7 separate regions of the Homo sapiens genome follow, and all the other regions are linked to region 7. The links are contacts of gene promoters, found by promoter capture Hi-C in blood cells and fetal thymus (Javierre and others, 2016). All regions are on one chromosome and are shown on one strand. Each heading gives the region's core, a stretch centred on a gene start or on the middle of the fragment in contact. The rest is flanking DNA. Distances are from core to core; before and after follow the strand shown. Region 1 overlaps HDAC4 (histone deacetylase 4). Region 2 overlaps HDAC4 (histone deacetylase 4). Region 3 has its middle 25 kb from the start of MIR4440. Region 4 holds the start of LOC124908009 (a long non-coding RNA gene). Region 5 holds the start of HDAC4-AS2 (HDAC4 antisense RNA 2). Region 6 overlaps HDAC4 (histone deacetylase 4). Region 7 holds the start of NDUFA10 (NADH:ubiquinone oxidoreductase subunit A10).

Region 1 (2,700 bases), core at 194-2,693, 870 kb before region 7:
GGAGGCTCCTCCTGGGAGATGGCACTCAGGTGAAGGCAAGCCAGGAGCGAGGAGATGAGCCCTGAAAAGCCAACAGAGCAAGATGGGCCCTTCTGGCCAGATTTTGGGTATAAATCTTGGTGTTCCCATCCTTGTGGTCCTTCTCTAAGTGGAGGTGAGTGGCTCCTGCTGGTTTCTACCTGAACTGTAGGCATGGAGGCAAGGAGGTGGGGGGATGCTGGGTCTGGCAGTTACCAGTCATTGGATGGAGAAAAAAATCAAAAACACCCTAACAGCGTAGAGAAACAAGAGCAGAAAACACCTCGATCTGGTCCTACTCGAAGGACTTTGCAAATATTAATTAATTCACATCTCATGATAGCTCCAGGAGAGAAGCAATTTAAAGGTACATTTCACAGATGACGAAACTGAGGCACAGAGAGGTTCAAGAGCTTCCCCAGGTCCCAAGGTGGCGGGTGAAGGAGCTGGGTAGAAACTCAGGCACCTGGTCCTGCCCACAGGTGCAGGCGATGTGAATGCCCAGAATATGCCCAAGCTCCGAATAGGAGTCACTGCATTGCTTTCACCAGGGAGGTCAGACGTTTGAGCTGGTACAGGCGTTACCTGTCAGCAGAGCCAGCAAAGGACATGCAAAAAATGCATGGGGTGACGACAAAATTCACAAGACAGTGACAAAGCTTTTCACATGTTCACAGGTCATACAATTGCCCTTTAGAGATGCAGAAATGGGCAAACTGTGTGCCGGGTCAGGATAAGTTAATGTAAAATCAAAATCATATAATTATTTAAGTCTACATCACAATTATTAAAGACTATTTCAGTTCATTCAAGGAACTTCATAACTAAAATTTAATGACGTGTTTCATATTACCAATTACTGCAGAAAAGCACAGATATAACTTACTTAGAATGAGCGATGTCATGTGTTTGAAAGTAGATGTCAAGGGTGATACAGGGTGTGTAACTACACACTATTCTCTTAAGTGGTTTAAACGTTTTCTCGGAAATCTTTATGTTATTATTATTAATGTGGTAGTGATGACTTTTTAAAAAACTGATAATGCAATCAAATCTTAATTAAGTTCTTCTGGAGCACTATGTATTCTAAATAACATTTCCCGGAGTGTGAAAACAGAATTCTCTCTTCCGTTCTCAAGAAAGCAGGGAGTTGGAGGGTGGTGCTATCACAAGGTTAGAAGCACAGTAGAAGGTGTTGGAGACTTTGCTTCCAATCATCCCCAGAGAAACACAAGGCAGCATGGGAAGCCAACAGCCACGGAATCTACGAGAGATGGCGCGGGCCCTGCCTATGGGAGAAAGGCCTCTGATGGTGAACAGCAGGGCAGGGCCGTGACAGTGTGCCGTCTCCCATGCTGATAGCCTTCCTTGCTATGAAGTACTCAAGCTGGTTCTGTTTCTTAGAACAGGAGGCTGATCCCCAGGTAGTGCTGACATTTGGGATGGGGGAGGAGCCAGTGCAAATAGCTCCTAGGGCTCCCCCATCCCTGCTGTTCTGTTGCGAGTTGGGGTGTGGAGCTGCTGAGGAACTGCTCTGGGGCCTGATGGGATGGGTGGTGTGTGCTGTCCTTTCCTGGGGCCCTTGGTGGAAAGGCTCCAAATGGGGAGTTTCTGGGAAGGCACGTCCCCACATGAGGCCGACTTGCTGGGCTTGGTGCTCTCGCTGGAAGCTCCCTCCTGGGTCCATGGCTCTGGAGTCTGAGTGCCACAGCCATCACTCCCAGGACAAGAGGAGACTCTGGGGATGGGTGCATGCCACAGCCGTGAGGATGTGGGTGTGGGCAGACCCACTGTGCTGATGAGGAAATGGAGGCCAGGGGAACGGAAGGCATTTGTTTCAGGGCACACAGAGCTATTACATGAATGAGCACACATCCAACCCACAGCACTTGATGACAACACCTCCGGGCTCCCACCCTCCACCCTCGGCATCGCTCCAGTTTCTAGGGCAGGGTTCTTCCGGGTAGGCATGTTCCTTGCCTCCCCATTCCCCGGGTCTCTCTCCCAGCATAGGGCCCACCACTCACCGCGGACTTTGGTTTTGTTGATGGAATTTGATTAATAATAGCATCAGTCCCCAGAAAGGGAACCTGGAGGGCGATTTGTAAGAATCAGCCCACAGATTCTCTCCTGATACTACTGGGCACATCTTTCTGGAAAAAATACTGATCTCTAAATCCGTTCTTTCTGTCAAGCTTTAGGGCGCTCTCCAGGTGAAATCCAGGACCATTCTCAGTAGAAGCATCAGTAAGAACCACAGGCTCACACCCATGAAACAAAGCAGCAGAAGCTCTAGGTTCACTTTTCCCAATAAAGGTTTATGGCCCAAATGGAAATGCGCCCATGTTTGCAGGGTTCTTGACTTGGAGAGGACATGGCCGTGCTGATATGGCCCACTCCAGCAGGGTCTCCACCAGCCCGATACGGCCCACTCCTCTGAGGTCACAGCTGGCCTGTTATGACCCACTCCTCCAGGGACTTGGCCGGCCCCATACGACCCACTCCACCTGGGACATGGCCAGCCCGATACGACCCACTCCACCTGGGACGTGGCCAGCCTGATATGACCCACTCCACCTGGGACATGGCTGACCCAATACGGCCCACTGCTCCAGGGACACCACCGCCTCAATAAACCCTAATAGGTGTACTGGGAACATGGCCGGCCTGATATGGTCCACT
Region 2 (2,700 bases), core at 56-2,555, 930 kb before region 7:
ATTTCGGATAAGGGATAGTCGACCTGTCAAATAATTAGCAGCAAAATGAAATGTAAGGGGAATCACGACCAGTCTCTTCCAATAGTGACTTTCTCCTGTGCCGAGTTTAACTGGAAGCTCCACATGTTGACCAGCGTAGCTAAGCGGGACTGGCCGTGTGGGCGGGTGAGGAGAGCTGCCCTGCTCTGCCCTAGTGACGGTACACGGCTCTGCCTGGACACCAGCAAGTCAGCCCGCTGGCCTTTTCCACTTCAGACAGAAAACGTGTTTCACACAAACACGTCAACAATCCCCGATTGTGTGTTGGCTCATTTATTTATTTAGGCACACCAGAAATTTCTTACAGCCCTGGCTCAATTCAGGAGGAAAGTCGACAGACAGAGACCTGGACAGCCAGTTCTGCACAGAGCAGTCTCCTATGGGAGTCTGGCCAGGGGAGGGAGGTGTTAAGATGAAATACACAGCCCTTGGGCTGGCCCCAGGGAACCTGAGCATCTGTCCCCAAGTGTGTCCCTTGCCTGCAAGCTGCTGTGGGGTAACACACCGGGGACTTGGGGGTGCCCAGCCCGGTGGAGGTCTTAGAAGCCGTGTCATAGGTTGCTCAGCTTCCACACGGTGCTGACCAGGGCGATTGCAGGTCCATTGCAGGACGCCTCCTTCTCAAACTGAGCCCCTCTGAGCGCCGAGTGCTTTGGGGCTCCTAAGCAGGAGCCAGGCGTGTCCACCCTGCCTCTCCCTTCCCCAGACCAGGCCCTCGAGGGCTCCTGTCCACCACCAGGCAGACTTGCCACTTGATAGACACCGCTCATTATGTGGGGAGGGAGGATTTCTTTCCAGGCGGTCTTGAAGCTTCATCATCAAAGCAAGGTGAGTTAAAATGCATTTTCAAGGGGCTGAAGACATTTCCTGAAGTGTATTCGGTGATGGTTTTCTTTTCAAAAAATTAGCCAGATGTGGGCCGGGCGCAGTGGCTCATGCCTGTAATCCCAGCACTTTGGGAGGCTGAGGTGGGCGGATCACAAGGTCAGGAGATCGAGACCATCCTGGCTAACACGGTGAAACCCCGTCTCTACTAAAAATACAAAAAAAAAAAAAAAAATTAGCCAGGTGCCGTGGTGGGCGCCTGTAGTCCCAGCTACACGGGAGGCTAGGGCAGGAGAATGGCGTGAACCCGGGAGGCGGAGCTTGCAGTGAGCCGAGATCGCGCCACTGCACTCCAGCCTGGGCGACAGAGCCAGACTCCGTCTCAAAAACAAACAAACAAAAATTAGCCAGATGTGGTGGCCTGGGCCTGTAGTCCCCACAACTCAGGACGCTGAGGCGGGAAGATCACTTGAGCCCAGGAGGTCGAGGCTGCAGTTAGCCATGAATGCACCGCTGCACTCCAGTCTGGGTAACAGACTGAAGCTCTGTCTCCAAAGAGGAAAAAAAAAAAAAAAAAAATCCAAGGTGACATCGCAGGAGTGAGAGCTGGGCAGGGCAAGATTCTGCCACCTGCTCTGTGTCAGCCAGCAGAGGCGGGGTCCCAGACAGGCCAGGCCCCGAGGCTGCCCCTGTGGGGACAGCACCCAGAGATGGTTTCTCTCCAACATACAATGAACTAGGCTTTGGGATTAGGCCAACACTGCAGGGAGCGGAGGGTGTACTACACCCGTGTTCTGAAGGGTCTTCTGGGGATTCTGCACACCTGGGGTGCCAAGGAGCTGCTCGGTCTACCAGGTGCCTGTGTCTGTGCCCCCTCCCATGGGACCCTGGGGTTCAGAAGCTTCTGGAGTCTTGCACAGAGTGAAGGACAAAGCCCCAGCCAAACTGCAGGACCCCAGTCCCCAGAGAACTCAAGAGACCCTCCTTCGCCTGCTTCAGGACCACGGCTCCAGCTCCCAGGGACCAGCCTGGAGCTCCAGGCCTCTTGCAGGGAGCCTGGCTCAGGCGTGCAGCGCCACCACTGAGCAATAGCCTGGCTCAGGGCAGGCGGCCGCAACTGCTAATGCAGGAAGGAGCAAATGGCTCACTCTGTGTTTCGTTTCTTTTTTTTTTTGTTTTCTTTTCCTTTCTTTCTCTCTCTCTCGCTTCTCTCCTCTCCTTTTCTCTCTCTTTCGCAATAAAGACAGGAAAAAGGCGGGGGGAAACATGGAGAAAGCTTCCCACGGATAATCCCATGGAGTCTAAAAGGGACATGCCGAGGGCTGGCAGGGCTGGGAGGCCTTTGGGAAGCTCAGAGGAGCCGCGGGGAGCCGGGCGTACGAGAGCAGGCCAGGACTCCGCTGGGCGAGGCCGAGCAGGGACACCAGCTCCTCACCCAGTTGAAACTTGCGGTCACTGGAGAGGAGCAACGCAGGAGCTGATCTGGTTTGAAAAAGAGGTCAAAGCACTTTACAGCTCCCATTTCCCAGCGCCGAGGAGTGGTGAGTTTTCCGTGTTCCAAGCCCCACTGTTCTGCCTCCGGGAGAGTTTGCAGCTGCTTTCGGGGAAGGTGGCTGGCTCTGCTCACCTGCTCTGCCCTCCCTGACAAGAGCACCTGCTGTGTGCCCACACTTCGGCTCCCGAGGTCTACTTTGCTCCTCCTGACACCCCAGGAGGCTGGCCCCTCCTGGCTCTGGAGGAGACATGAGGCTCAGGAGAGCTGCATCTGTGCCAGCGACAGCAGGTGCATCCCACACCAGGGCAGGGGTCTGCACCGGCCTCCTGTCTGTCTTCTTC
Region 3 (2,700 bases), core at 132-2,631, 980 kb before region 7:
TGACTAAAACTCGGTTTTGTGATGGTACAATACAGAGGAAGTCTAGATTTAGAATGAATTTCCTGGTAACTGGTTTGTGAATAGAATATGGTTTGCGTCTGTGCCCCTGCCAAATCTCACATTGAATTGTCATCTCCAGTGTTGGAGCTGGGACCTGGTGGGAGGTGATCAGATCACGGGGGCCGAGTTCCGTGAATGGCTTAGCTCCATCCCCGCTCGGTACTGTGGAGTGAATGAATGAGCTCTCATGGATCTGGCTGTTTCAAAGTGTGTGGCCCCTTTCCCATCTCTTGCTCCTGCTCCAGCCATGGAAGACGTACCTGCTTCCCCTTCTGCCATAACTGGACGTTTCCTGAGGCCTCCCCGGAGGCCGAACAGATGCCAGCCTCATGCTTCCTGTACAGCCTGGGGAACTGTAAACCAATTAAACATCTTCTCTTTATCAGTTGCCCAGTCTCAGGTATTTCTTTATAGCAGTGTGAGAACGGACTCATACGGAATATCTGCAGTTTCTTCTTGCCTTTCTAAAGAGGCATGAGGGCCTCTGGGTTTGGCTGGCCAGCTCTCCATTGCACGGCACACCTGGTGGCTCCTGCCAAGTCGCTGCCAGCTGGGACCAAGTTAGAGAGGCGCCGCTTAGAGAGCTGCCCACTGTGACGCTTCATCCGTTCCCTCTTCAGCAGCCCTTCCCACCTGGAGCTTGTAGGAGAATCCACGATGTTCATCCGTGTGATTATTTTTTATTTCTGCTGTATGCTCCTGTATGCGCCTGGCCTAACATCTCTTCGAAATGTCTTTTTGTATTTCTAGTGATTCCGCTTGAACAGCATCTCATCAGCTTCGCAGCTGTGCACGCAGCCATTACTTGTAGAATTCTCCTGGTACCTGTGTAAATTTTATCCTTAGTCCTCCAGTAATTCACTAGCCAGACAGCACAGTGCCAGCTCCTGGTCTGGCATCGTTTGGTGACTTCCTTCTGGTCATGATACTCACCTTGGACCTGTGTGTACCACCTTCTTCTCTGGGGAAGGCTCCCACGATTGCTTCTAGGAAAGAAGAGAACCTCCGATTGGCTAGAATGTGGTTGTAAGGGCCGGCCACCCTTGCTGGTATCATTAGTTGGCTGTGCCTACCCAGAGAGTCCAGGCAGCACCATCCCTGACCCTCCGCCTTCCCACTGGCACAGATGTCTTTCAGGTAGAGTGTGGACCTCATAGGAAGGCCCTGGGGGTTGTGAGGTACCTGGGTACAGTGGTTCCTCATGTGTTGGTAAGGTTTGCAGGTGTTCTTGGTTCTGTGGCAGAGACTCTGGTGTCTCTCAGTACCCACCCTCCCTTTCTTCTGTAACAGCAGAGCTGCTGTCTCCACTTGGACAGGTGGGCACCTGTGGAAGACTGCACATCCTGGCCTTGCTTGCAGCTGCTGTGGCCACAAGCCCCAGGGGGTCTTAAGCAGAAATGCTATGTGCAGCATCTGGGGAGAACCCTTAAGGAGCCATTCTGGGTTCTGGTGCCAGGTGAGAAGGCCCGAGAAGCAGCTAGGCAGGGGGTGGGCTGTGGTCCCCCCAGCAGGAGTAGGAAGAGAGAGGCGGTGGCAGAGGCTGCCGAGGGCCCCTGGGAGGCTGAGAGCCGCGGCTCCAGCCTGGCCTCCTGCGTCTTTAGGGAGGTGGATTTGTCAAGGTGGTGAGGAGCCCACATTTCTGCATAACACTTTTGGAGCTTGATCTGTGTCCACATACTTGGGCATATGGCGGTCTCCACTTGAACCCTGGCCCCTGGCCCTGCGAATATCTGTGGTTGGCTCGGTAGATGTGTGTCACCCACGCAGACATTAGCTTTGCCATCATCTGTCATTTTGTCATATATCTAACTGCCCATTACTGGGAGTTGTTTACTTTCCAAAGGGGCTTTACTAATAACTTCAACACTGTAACACATTAGTCTGAGGCCCCAAGTACATATTAGGGACTCAGTGTGACTTCAAAGAGCAGCTGCATCCAGATTGAAACTAAGAGTGTGTCAGGGACATACAACTCCCTACAACTGCACCCCAGAAGTTTAAGTGGAACCACTTCCTGGGTCCTCCCAAGCTGCATTATGACCTGCGCTTCCTGAGAATCTGATGTAAAAGACAGCATGTGTTGAAATTATAGCACGATTTACTTGCAAACCCGAATTTCCATTTTTTTGTACACTCAGATATCAGACAAAAACTTTTAAGAAACTGAGAACACCGCAGCATTTTAGTTTTTGTACATAAATCCCAAGACTTGCACGAATTACAATGCCACACTTCTTTTTTCCCACATTTTCATATGAATTTATTTTCCATCACTATCAGAGAAATGTTCTTGCATTTGAAATCAAATCAACAAGTTTAATTGGCCAGAGAGTTCCTTTTAAATAGAAATTTTGAGTGCATTTAAAAATAAACCTTCAAGTCTCATATATTATTCAAGTCTCATATATATAGTATAAGTATAGTATATATTTATATTAAAGTCTCATATATATATAGTACCATATAATATTACCATCCTTGGCTGGGTGCAGTGGCTCATGCCTGTAATCCCAGCACTTTGGGGGGCCAAGATGGGCAGATCACCTGAGATCAGGAGTTTGAGACCAGCCTGGCCAACATGGTGAAACACCATCTCTACTAAAAATACAAAAAAGCCGAGCATGGTGGCGTGCGCCTGTA
Region 4 (2,700 bases), core at 133-2,632, 890 kb before region 7:
ATGACCCGCACGGCAAGGGGGTAGGTAGCTGCTCCCTCATTTATTTATTTTTGAGACGGAGTCTCGCTCTGTTGCCCAGGCTGGAGTGCAGTGCCACCATCTCGGGTCACTATAACCTCTGCCTTCCAATTTCAAGCAATTCTCCTGCCTCAGCCTCCCAAGTAGCTGGGATTACAGGTGTGCGCCACCACGCCCAGCTAATTTTTGTATTTTTAGTAGAGACGGGGTTTCACCATGTTAGTCAGGCTGGTCTTGAACTCCTGACCTCACGTGATCCGCCTGCCTCGGCCTCCCAAACTGCTGGGATTACAGGTGTCAGTCACCGTGTCCGGCCGGTGTGCCCTCATTTCTGAAGTGACACTTTCACATTGCTGTTGCTATGTAATTTCATAAGGACGTTCCCATTTTCCTCTAAATTGTATTTTTCTAAATGTAACCACTCCCCCAGACAGTGCACATTTGTAAAAGTTCGCTAACACAAACTGACCACAAGAGTCGGTTCTGGGCTTCCAGCGCTGGCTCAGCTTGGTCCAGACAGAAACCCAAATCGCAAGAGCCGGTGGCCTCTCCCAAAAGGTGAGAAAGGGGAAGTGACTTCTGTTTCCACTCCATCTACCTGACTCTGGGAGTGAGGCATGGATTTTCACTGCAGTCACGGTGGCTACATCACGTGATGGGGATGTGTGTTTGGGAACTGTGGGGGTGGGACAGGCGTGCATTCCTGTCTCCTCCAAAGGCAGGCGAAGGCGGGGCACCATCCAGAGCGTGGGCAGCCTCAGAGCCTGGCTGCACCCAGGCCCATTTGTGCTCACCTGTGACGAGGGGTGCTTGTGCCGGCGGCTGCTCCAGTAAGACCATGTGCTGCAGAAGAGGGCTGTGCGCTGCCCCTCCGTCCCGCTCCAAGGGCGAGGTGCTCAGGTAGGGAGTGAGGTGGGTGCCGGGGAAAAGGGAGAGCCTCTGCTGGAGGGCGGGAAGGGTGAGTCTCTCGGCGTCCTGCTGGCCCGCCGTGCCCTGGAAAGCACAGCCAGGATGCTCGGGTGGAAGGACCCATCACCACCACCCCACACCACACGGACCCACGGGGGCTGACTTACCGCAGAGGGGCCGGTGGCAGGCAGGCCCAGCGTGATGTTGGGCAAGGATGGCGATGTGTAGAGGGGAAGTGGAGCGGCCGAGCCTTCTCGTGCCACAAGTCTGTGCGCCAAACTCGTCTGGGGACAGAACACACGATGACCATCACAGTCTGTCACGGCCAAACATCAGCAATATACACCAAGAAAAACAACGATGAAAACACCTGCACTGAATTCTGATATATGAGCGTAAACGTACATGTAACAAATGAGACAGCAATGAGAGCATGAGATTTCAACACGTGCCACAACATGAAAGCACAATTCACCACTCCAGTTTCCTCCTCCCGATACGAGTTCTTCTTCTGTCACCTTGTCCAGCATCATCTCGTTGATTTCTATTCAGTTTGATTATTTACCACAGAACAGTTAGAAGGAAATCTAGGCTAATATAGTTTACAATGCCGTTTTGCAGTTTCTAGGATAATATAGTTTACAATGCTTTTTTGTAGTTGGCAATGTCTTTCCAGACATAACATCAAAGGCAGAAAACAAAAAGGAAATAACATTTAACTGTACATTTAAAAATAACTATAAGGGTATGATTGGATTGTTTGTTACACAAAGGATAAGCACCGGAGAGGATGGACATCCCACACTTCGCATGACGTGATTATTACAAATTGCATGCCTGTATCAAAACATCTCATGTACCCCACAAATATATACATTATGTACCCACAAAAATTAAAAATAAAGAGAAAATCATAAAACAACTGCCTCTACGAAAGGTGGGCAATGATGACAATACTGGCCATGTATGAGGCAGACGAGGGTCAGCACAGAGAGCTTGCAAATCAAACAACTAACAGTGAGAAAAGCACGCGGTGAGGACCAGTGACGGCAGAGCTCAGGAAGGGGAAGGCGCTCAGGAAAACACATCATGGTCATCAAAAAAGGTATTCTGAAACCCAACAAATTGGCAAACACTTTTGAAACATGGTAATACCATCTTGGCCTAGAGGAACGGCGAACACTGTTGGGTGAATCACAAATCAGTTAGTGGCACCCTTTCTGCAGGACAATTTGGCAATCTATGTCAAAGGCCTTCAAAATCTGTCTAACCTTTGATGCTGGAGCTCCACTCTTGGGATGTAACGTTAAGAAATAAGGAGATGGCCTGATGCCCATGAAGCCTCCGCTGCAGGGCCGAGCACCCAGCAGGCATGGCAGAGCTATGCGGCTTCCCCGACACCTTGGTGTTAACAGAACGGAGGGGCATTGCACACCGGGATGCTCTGGGGGTTGGGAACGATCTAGCTGATTACTTGGACACTTGTTTATGATACATTAAGTTAGAAAAACAGGTTATAGATCATGTACCTTTTAAAGAATGGGCTTGGATAAAGCAAACACAAGCCAGGAGTAAAGATTAGAAGGCCACACAGGAAGAGTCAGCAGCAACAGTCTCCAAGGACTTGAACTACTGTGATATTTAACATCTTTTTGCTTGTAGAATGAACGTGTTTTGCTAAAAAGGACAATAGTTTATCACCACTATATCCCCTACACAGTAGCTACTCAAGGAATGTCTGCTGAATGAATGGGCAAACAAAGAGAAGGAATA
Region 5 (2,700 bases), core at 153-2,652, 830 kb before region 7:
TGCTGGCTGCCCTGGCTGGACTGGCTTGAACCTGAGGAGTGCCCAGGCCTCAGGCCACGAAGACCAGCTCAGGCCACTTTCCTGGACAGTGAAAAGACACAAAGCAACCCAGAAGGTGACAGAAGCTTCTGAATATATCTGATCACATTCCACAGCGCAGCACGGGCTGCCTCGTTGTTATTGTTGTTTTTTAAATGAAATCCTCCTCTCTGACTGTTTCTGTTTCTTTCCCCAAATCAGTGAAGTGCAACCCCCAACTTTTAAAATGCATGTATTTAGTTTTTAATTGGGTGTCGACTTTGACACAGTAAAAGGTTTTCATTTGCTATTATGTGAGAAGAATCTACGCACATAAACTGCGTGTTCAATGTGCGGAAGCAGGGAGTAGGGGTCCGCCCACCCCCCACCCCGCACATGGGTGAGGACTGTTCCATGTGCAGGAGCAGAAAGCAGGGGTCCACCCACCCCCCACCCCACACATAGGTGAGGACTGTTCCATGTGCAGGAGCAGAAAGCAGGGGTCCACCCACTCCCCCACCCCATATGTGGGTGAGGACTGGACCCTATTCATTTCCTTTCTTCCCTTTTCTGATCATTTTTATGACAAAATATAGCAAAATGGAAAAACTGCGTAAGCAATGCTGGTTTTATGAAACATCAGCGTTCACCTACATTTGCTTCAGACTTTCTTTTAAGGAATAAAATATATGAAAGGCAGGGAGGAGAGCTAAGTCAGCAAACTCGCAAACTCGGAGAAAAGAGAACGGGGCCTGGCTTCTTGAAGAAGACTCAGCTGGCGGGCTCCCTGCTGTGGGCACTGGGGGCTACGGGTCCGGCTCTCACAAGCACGGCGGTGCTAAATGCTTTCCTGAACACACAGTCTCGTGAATGACTGTCAGGTTGCGGTTCCCTCTTCCGCGTTCATGGCTGTGATTGGCACGCGGTTCTCCTGGGACCAGTGCCCTGCAGTGACTTCCTAGAGTGCCTCAGGTGAGCGGGCCCGTGCTTTCCAGGGATAAACACAACTTTGTTCTTCTAAGTTACACAGTCAGCACCCATGGGTGAACCCATCGGGGAAGGCATACACTTGTATAATGTAGAAGAACAAAGTTGCATTTATCTCCAGGAAGGGATAAAGTTAGAAAAACAAAATAGCATCAACAACGACCATGTTATTTAGAATGCTGGTGTCTATATTTGTAGGTGAAACTGGTCTCTCTCATATTCTTTCTGTTTGGTCAAACAGAGACATTTTAGCTTGAACAAATAAGCACAGGGAATAAGTAACTGCACAGCGTTGCATCTTGGAAGCTGGGTTATTGCCTACGTCTCGCCTCATTTATCCCTGTGTGGGGGGCCTGGGTGGGACCCCTGCTTATAAGATGTGCTGCTGTCACCCAAGGTCCCATGTAGAAACAGGGTCCCACCACAGGCGCTGGGCAGAGGCCTGACCCGCTGCTGGCTTTAGCGCATCCCCCTCCATTTCTAATTTCTCACAGATGGAGGGAGGGGGCAGCATTGTAAACGTCTGGTGTTAATCTCTTTAAAAACCGAACATAAAACAACTTTTAAGGGATTTTTTTTATTAACTTCAAAAACATGACATGCCCGCATTTCCACTCCTCATTCAGTTCCCAAAGAACATTCATGGCTCCTGCTGTGTGCCAGGTGCTGTGGGAACGGGCCCAGGGCAGCCGCTGGGGCGCCGAGGAGCACAGGAGCTGATGGCAGGCCCAGGGGAAGGGCCCACAGTGGGCTGCGTCTCACCGAGGGCAGGGGCTGCCTGAGCAAGGACCCAGAGGTCTGGGTGCAGGTGGAGGGTCATGGGGACGGGGGAGCCCAGAGACCAGCCTGCCATCTGCAATCCTAGAGTGTCACTCAGGCTTGGGGCCGGGAGAGCAGCCAAGAGCGCGAGGGGAAGCAGCAGCAACTCTGGTGCTGGGGAGGACCCAGCTTCTCAGGACAAAGTGGGGAAGGCGGGGCAGGCTCTGCACACCCAAGGTTGGCTGGCCGAGTGGAATTTTCTTTCTTCAAACTTTTCTCAGATTCCCCTGAATCTGGAATCACAGGACATCTTAAAAGGAAACCCAAGTTCATGTTTGCTCCAAAGCATCTAATAGAGATGACACTAACATGATCTTGATGCAAATGCCACCGAAGCTATTTCATCAGGGTCAGAGGCAAAATTCAGTGTACTGAAATTCCCATCACAACGCAGGCACCTGGCCAGATCTGAGCCCGGGGTGGTCAATGCTGATGTGGGCCAAGGGCCCCCACCACCTGGGAGTTTTCAGAAATGGAAAATGATCACAAGGTTCCTCACAGGGATGCCGGCCAGCATTCATCATTGAGCGTGGAGGAGATGCGCTCACTTGGATGCCAAGGAGGACAGGCAGCGCCCTCTGAAGGTAAGAATTGCTCCCTGGATGTAGCCTCATCTGGATAACCTACACAACTCATCTTTCCATCCAGTCTACTCAAGAGCTATTAATGCTTTAATTCCTAAGGCATTCATTCTTTAATCTGTTCCTTAAGCTGTTTTCTTGGAGATTTGTACAAGTTCTGCAAATTAATTCAAATTTCATCTTAAAAGGAATTTGTCAACTGGACTGAGAGACAATCAAAACAGTCAGACACGGAACATGCTGAGCGCCACGCTGCTGCCGGGGAATTCTCTTCTGAAGCTTGGGTGACGCTCCT
Region 6 (2,700 bases), core at 125-2,624, 950 kb before region 7:
GCCGCAGGACTGAGGGGGCCGCAGGACTGAGGGGGGCAGCAGGACTGAGGGGAGCAGCAGGACTGAGGGGGGCAGCAGGACTGAGTGGGGAAGCAGGACTGAGGGGGCCACAGGACTGAGGGGGGCCGCAGGACTGAGGGGGCCGCCCTCTGCTTTCAACTGTCCACATCATCCCAAGGAGACTCGCTTCTAATTATTTTAATAAAGTTCTTGTCATAAAACCTTTTTCTTTGGACAGAAAAACACATTTCCAGCCATGCTTTTGGTGTGGATTTTAAAGCCAAGACCTTTTTCAATGAGAACCACAGGCGTTTTGTGTGGACGCTGTGTCCTTGGCGAGGCACTCTGACTGCTGCTTTGCAGCGAGCGCACGTGGAGGCTTTACTTCCCCACTTTGAAGTGCTGCTGAGCTATTTTACTTCTAATCCCCCTCCAAAAAGAAGTCCTGTGAAAATCGCCGTTAAATGAAGTTCATACCAAGAGAGTCTCTGCTGTCTAGGCTTGGTGTGTGGTGTTGCCTCAAAGCCAGTCAAAACAAAATGGGAAAGATGAGCCCAGGCTCGTGGGCACTGGCACGTCGGCCACACGTGAGGCTGCGTGGGGCACAGTCGGATGCACGTGCCCACACACTCATTTTCATTTTACTGGGCTCAACACCCTCTAGGTTGTGATCCCAAACACCTGCTAGACATAAGAAGGTCAGAACGTGAGGTGCATGAGTGCACCTTCAGCACCCGTTTGTGGCGCGACTAAGAAACGTCCCTTCTCCTCCATGGGACATGACTTCTTTGCCTGTAAAAAGGAAGCTGAGCATGGCACTCCCTGTGTCTTCAGGACTGTGCTTACCCTCCACGACTTTCCTACAAGAGGAAGCTGAAGGAATGTCCCTGTTTAATAGATGCTGCAAAAAATGGGAAACTGGACTCACATTTTATTCCCAGAATTAAACTTTTAATAAAGAACTCAGTCTCGGCCGGGCACGGTGGCTCACACATGTAATCCCAGCACTTTGGGAGGCCGAGGCAGGCGGATCATGAGGTCAGGAGATCGAGACCATCCTGGCTAACACGGTGAAACCCGGTCTCTACTAAAAAATACAAAAAGTTAGCTGGGCGTGGTGGCGGGTGCCTGTAGTCCCAGCTACTCAGGAAGCTGAGGCAGGAGAATGGCATGAACCTGGGAGGAGGAGCTTGCAGTGAGCCGAGATCGCGCCACTGCACTCCAGCCTGGGCGACAGAATGAGACTCCGTCTCAAAAAAAAAAAAAAAAAAAAAAAAAAAAAGAACTCAGTCTCTAAAAAAATAAGATTGAGATGTTTGCCGTGGGCCTCTCAAGCCATCACTTTAAGGAGAGTATTTCCATGAGGTCACTTTTGGCCTTTCTTGGGGCAACCTGAGGGGAGAGAGGGGTGGGCTCGCAGTTTCCCAAGGCAGTAGGCCCACTGATCGTCCACTGATCGTCAGCTCAAGAGGCAGGAGAAATGGGTGGAAAGAGGGGATCTTTAGAGAAGGTGGACAAATGCCTGTAAGGTGCACCCCTGGGGCCGGCAAGCCCAGGGAAGCCATGACTGTGGTGCCCAGAGGGTGCCTGTGCCCGTGAGGCACGTACAGAGGGAAACGTGGTGCTAAGGGGAGAGAGCGGCTTCTCCTCGCGGTGGCCTCTGCATTTAGGGAGGTCCCGTGTGAAGCCGTGGGGTGCCACGCATCCCCTTCCCGTGGCCTCAATGTGGCTTCTCTGGCACCTTCGTTACCGACACAGCACTGCACCCTTCACTCGGTCATCAGCCAACCTGCACCTGCAGCCTGAAGACGACATCTCCCCTCAGCTTCCCAGGGAATAGAGCTGGGCTGGGACAGCAGACAGGTGCCAGCCACTCCCCTTGGTTTCCCGGGAAACAAAGCTGGGCCGGGATAGCAGGTGGGTGCTGGCCACTTTCCTCGGCTTCCCAGGGAGACAGAGCTGGGTTGGGACAGCAGGCGGGTGCCAGCCACTCCCCTCAGCTTCCTGGGAAACAGAGCTGGGCTGGGATAGCAGTAGCAGGCGCGTGCCAGCGAACTCTCCTTGGCTTCCTGGGAGACAAAGCTGGGCCAGGATAGCAGTAGCAGGCGGGTGCCAGCCACTCCCCTCAGCTTCCGGGGAAACAAAGCTGGGCCGGGATAGCAGTAGCAGGCGGGTGCCGGGCCACTCTCCTGGGCTTCCCAGGGGAACAGAGCTGGGTTGGGTTGGAACAGCAGGCGGGTGTTGGCCACGCCCCTCGGCTTCCCAGGGGGAACAGAGCTGGACCGGGACAGCAGGCAGGGTGCCGGCCACTCTGCTTCCTCGAAAGGCCATCGCTCGTGCAGCCTCCCAGCTGTGCTCTGCGCAAGGGGCTGTGTCACGGGGCACGTCTAGCTCTAAACCACCACATACCATCAAATTATGGCCTGTACATACCATCCTCAAAAGCCACAACTGCATCTAAATGCAATAATTCACTTAACAGCTGGGTTTCAACATCTGGAAAGAAATGACCTTCCAGTTCATTCCCCTAGTAGGACCCTAAACAAAACTCACCACACCTTCCGTCAACACAAGCCTCAGAGCAAACCGAGCTTATGGGGCCAAGAGGCTGCAGTCCTGTGGCCACCCACAGCCGGCAAGCCTCTGGGGACTCCGTGGGAACTGGGCTCAGGGCTGGCACGCCATGCTTGAGTTTCTGGC
Region 7 (2,700 bases), core at 32-2,531:
GAAGATGGCTTGGCAGCTTCTTAGAAAACTAGTCTTACTACATGAGTAATCGCTCTTCCAGGTATTACCCAAATGATATAAAAATGTATTTCCAAAAAGAAATCTGCATGTACACGATTACAGCAGCTTTATTCATAATTGCCAAAAACTTGAAGCAACCAAGATGCCCTTCAATTGCTGAATGAATTGAAGTACATCCATGCAATGAGATATTACTCAGTGATTAAAAAGAAATGAGTTACCAAGCCACGAAGACATAAGTGAATCTTACATAGATATTTCCAAGTATTCAAGGCGTCTGAAAAGGCAATATATTGTATGATTCTAATTATATGACATTCCAGAAAAGGCAACTATGGAAATGTTAATGAGATCTGTGGTTGTCAGGGGTTGGAGAAAAAGAAGGGTTTAATAGGTAAAGCAGAGGGGAATTTTTTAAGGCAGTGAAGCTACTCTGTACGAACCTATAATGGTGGAGACATGCTATTACACACGTGTCAAAACCTATAGAACCTTATAGCACAAAGAAAAAATCCATAGAACCTTATAGCACAAAGAATGCGCTCAATGTATGCACATTTTAAAAAACGCATTAGGTAGAAGGATCCCAAGATGTAAGGCAGAATGTGACAAAGCAATCCAACTGTGTTACAAATGTATGAAACGATTTCACTGAAGAAGGTGGGGGCAAAATGCTAAGAAATGAGAGTAGTCAGTCAGAGTAAAGGCAAAAGGAAGCGGACACAAGCACTGAACTCCGTGTCTGCTCAACATGGCATCACCCAAGCACCCAGCAGGGCCCGACCTTTAAACGGCTCTTGACAGGGCTGCTACGTGAATTATCTAATGACAAGCGCGTGTGCCCCCGGCCTGCCACCTGCACACGGGCCTCCCGCATCAGGGCAGCCTCGGGGCCCTGATCACCTCCGCGCTCCAGCGTTTTGCTTAAAGCTGAGATAAAATGGCCTGGAGAAGCTCGTGGCCCCCTGAGGTCTGTCCACGACCAAAGACCAAACAATTCCGGAGGCAGGAGGGGTCCCCCAAACCCACCCGGAGAGCGACCTGGGAGCCGCCGCCAGAGGCCGGGGGAGATGTGGAACTGCTCCCCACCCCGCCACCCCGCCACCCTGCCACCCCGCCACCCTGCCACCCCGCCGCCCGCTCACCACGCGCTGGGCGCCCGCCGCCACGACCCGGGCGGACGCGGACGTCGCTGCCAGCTTCAGGAGCCGCAAGGCCATGGCTACCCGGTCAGCTCAGGATCAAGGACCCAAGGGGACGCGGTCGCGACGGGGCCCTCTCTCGCGGCCGGCGCGCTGCCGTGACGTCACGGCCGGGGTGCCCGCGGCGCCTGTCGGGAACCTTCCAGGGGGCGGGGCCGCGCCGAGGCCCTCGGGGGCTTCCGCGGAGACAGCCAGTGCGCTGCCAGGGTCCTGCGGGTTGGGGCGAGGGCCGAGAGGTGGGAGTTGGAGGTGAACGTGGGGGCAGCATGCTGGCTGCCCGGCCCCTGCCTGGGTTCTGAGTTGCTGCGGTGTCGCGGGAGCTGAGGCCGCCCAGGGCGTGGAGCGACTTCTGCGTCTCGTCCCAGGGTCCTGTGCTCCCCGCAGAATCCCCCAGGCGCGGTGTGGACGTCAAAGCGACCTCCTAGAGAACATTCCTAGCTCTCAGAACGTTCTCGCTGGGGAGGGAAAGTGGAAAAAGAGGGGGCGAGGAGCGGAGGGACGGGGTGGGACCCCTGTCGCGGGGCGCCTGTCAGGGAGAGGGACCTGGCAAGGCCGGCCTGGGTCGCCTCCGGAGCTGAAGGCTAAGTGGTCTCATCCAGGGGACCTGCTGTGAACACATTGAATAGCATAGAAAACAAAAGCACACGCTCCAAGTCCATCTCTTTTTTTTTTTTTTTTTTTTTTTTTTTTTTTTTTTTTTTTTGAGGCAGAGTCCCGCTCTGTCGCCCAGGCTGGAGTGCGGTGGCGCCATCGCGCTCACTGCAAGCTCCGCCTCCCTGGTTCACGCCATTCTCCTGCCTCAGCCTCCCGAGTAGCTGGGACTACAGGCGCCCGCCGCCACACCCGGCTAATTTTTTGTATTTTTAGTAGAGACGGGGTTTCACCATGTTAGCCAGGATGGTCTCGATCTCCTGACCTCGTGATCCACCCGCCTCGGCCTCCCAAAGTGCTAGGATTACAGGCGTGAGCCACCGCGCCGGCAAGTCCATCTCTTAAAATGTGCTCCCGTCAGGACCTGGGCTCTGGGCTCCACGAAGGAGCCTTGCATGTGAGGTTTCCTTCCAAGTATGCCTGCTGTTGGGAAGGGTTTTTATAATCTTTTGTGTTCCCCAGGCTTTTTGTTCTTAACCCCTTAAATATTCTTTAACTTTGTTTTCAACTTTTCAGAAATGATCATGCGATTGTAAAACAGTGGGAATGCAGCTGTGTAAACTACGGCCGGTTCTATGGATGTTTCTATAATTGAAGAATTGCTTTTTGTCAAAAATACGGATTCCCGGTCCCCAACGCAGGAGGGTCTGGTTTTTAGATCCTGGAGGGCACCTGAAATCCATTTAACAAGCTTTAGGGTTCATGTCTGCTGTTTTTTGCCTTGTTTCCTTTGCATTTTTTTTTTTTTTTTTTTTTTGTGCCTTCCAATGGATACAGTACATTTTTTTAGAATTCCATCTTGATTTACTGATAATGTCTTGGGAAA

Evidence for each region. Contacts are between HindIII fragments. The CHiCAGO score rates a contact against its expected background, and 5 or more counts as called.
Region 1: a fragment that was not itself captured here is called in contact with the fragment with the promoter of NDUFA10 in region 7 in 3 of 17 cell types (M0 macrophages, monocytes and naive CD4 T cells); the score reaches 6.9 in M0 macrophages.
Region 2: a fragment that was not itself captured here is called in contact with the fragment with the promoter of NDUFA10 in region 7 in 2 of 17 cell types (M0 macrophages and neutrophils); the score reaches 5.7 in M0 macrophages.
Region 3: a contact is called between a fragment that was not itself captured here and the fragment with the promoter of NDUFA10 in region 7, in 7 of 17 cell types (M0 macrophages, fetal thymus, naive B cells and 4 more). The highest score is 8.0, in M0 macrophages.
Region 4: a fragment that was not itself captured here is called in contact with the fragment with the promoter of NDUFA10 in region 7 in 1 of 17 cell types (M0 macrophages); the score reaches 5.1 in M0 macrophages.
Region 5: a fragment that was not itself captured here is called in contact with the fragment with the promoter of NDUFA10 in region 7 in 2 of 17 cell types (neutrophils and monocytes); the score reaches 5.7 in neutrophils.
Region 6: a fragment that was not itself captured here is called in contact with the fragment with the promoter of NDUFA10 in region 7 in 8 of 17 cell types (M0 macrophages, monocytes, fetal thymus and 5 more); the score reaches 11.2 in M0 macrophages.

The regions. Positions count from the first base shown.
Region 1 is chr2:239,152,573-239,155,272 of GRCh38, forward strand. All of the region lies in intron 7 of HDAC4 (histone deacetylase 4), which reads right to left. Among named protein-coding and RNA genes, the nearest start is that of HDAC4-AS2, 40 kb to the right of the region's middle. The HindIII fragment of the contact is 1,536 bases long and covers 676-2,211 here.
Region 2 is chr2:239,090,823-239,093,522 of GRCh38, forward strand. All of the region lies in intron 17 of HDAC4 (histone deacetylase 4), which reads right to left. Among named protein-coding and RNA genes, the nearest start is that of MIR4441, 6.2 kb to the left of the region's middle. The HindIII fragment of the contact is 916 bases long and covers 848-1,763 here.
Region 3 is chr2:239,042,932-239,045,631 of GRCh38, forward strand. No RefSeq gene overlaps it. Among named protein-coding and RNA genes, the nearest start is that of MIR4440, 25 kb to the right of the region's middle. The HindIII fragment of the contact is 4,694 bases long and covers 1-2,700 here.
Region 4 is chr2:239,133,433-239,136,132 of GRCh38, forward strand. It overlaps HDAC4 (histone deacetylase 4), which reads right to left. Exons shown (of 27, transcript NM_001378414.1): 10 at 1,095-1,211; 11 at 813-1,011. It overlaps LOC124908009 (a long non-coding RNA gene), which reads right to left and starts at 806. Exons shown (of 2, transcript XR_007088257.1): 1 at 1-806. The HindIII fragment of the contact is 3,488 bases long and covers 1-2,700 here.
Region 5 is chr2:239,191,769-239,194,468 of GRCh38, forward strand. All of the region lies in intron 3 of HDAC4 (histone deacetylase 4), which reads right to left. It overlaps HDAC4-AS2 (HDAC4 antisense RNA 2), which reads left to right and starts at 1,877. Exons shown (of 2, transcript NR_198956.1): 1 at 1,877-2,408; 2 at 2,594-2,700. The HindIII fragment of the contact is 2,559 bases long and covers 124-2,682 here.
Region 6 is chr2:239,073,971-239,076,670 of GRCh38, forward strand. All of the region lies in intron 22 of HDAC4 (histone deacetylase 4), which reads right to left. Among named protein-coding and RNA genes, the nearest start is that of MIR4440, 6.4 kb to the left of the region's middle. The HindIII fragment of the contact is 6,470 bases long and covers 1-2,700 here.
Region 7 is chr2:240,024,061-240,026,760 of GRCh38, forward strand. It overlaps NDUFA10 (NADH:ubiquinone oxidoreductase subunit A10), which reads right to left and starts at 1,282. Exons shown (of 10, transcript NM_004544.4): 1 at 1,167-1,282. The coding sequence starts at 1,241. RefSeq lists a silencer at 1,209-1,468 and an enhancer at 1,277-2,106. The HindIII fragment of the contact is 3,872 bases long and covers 1-2,563 here.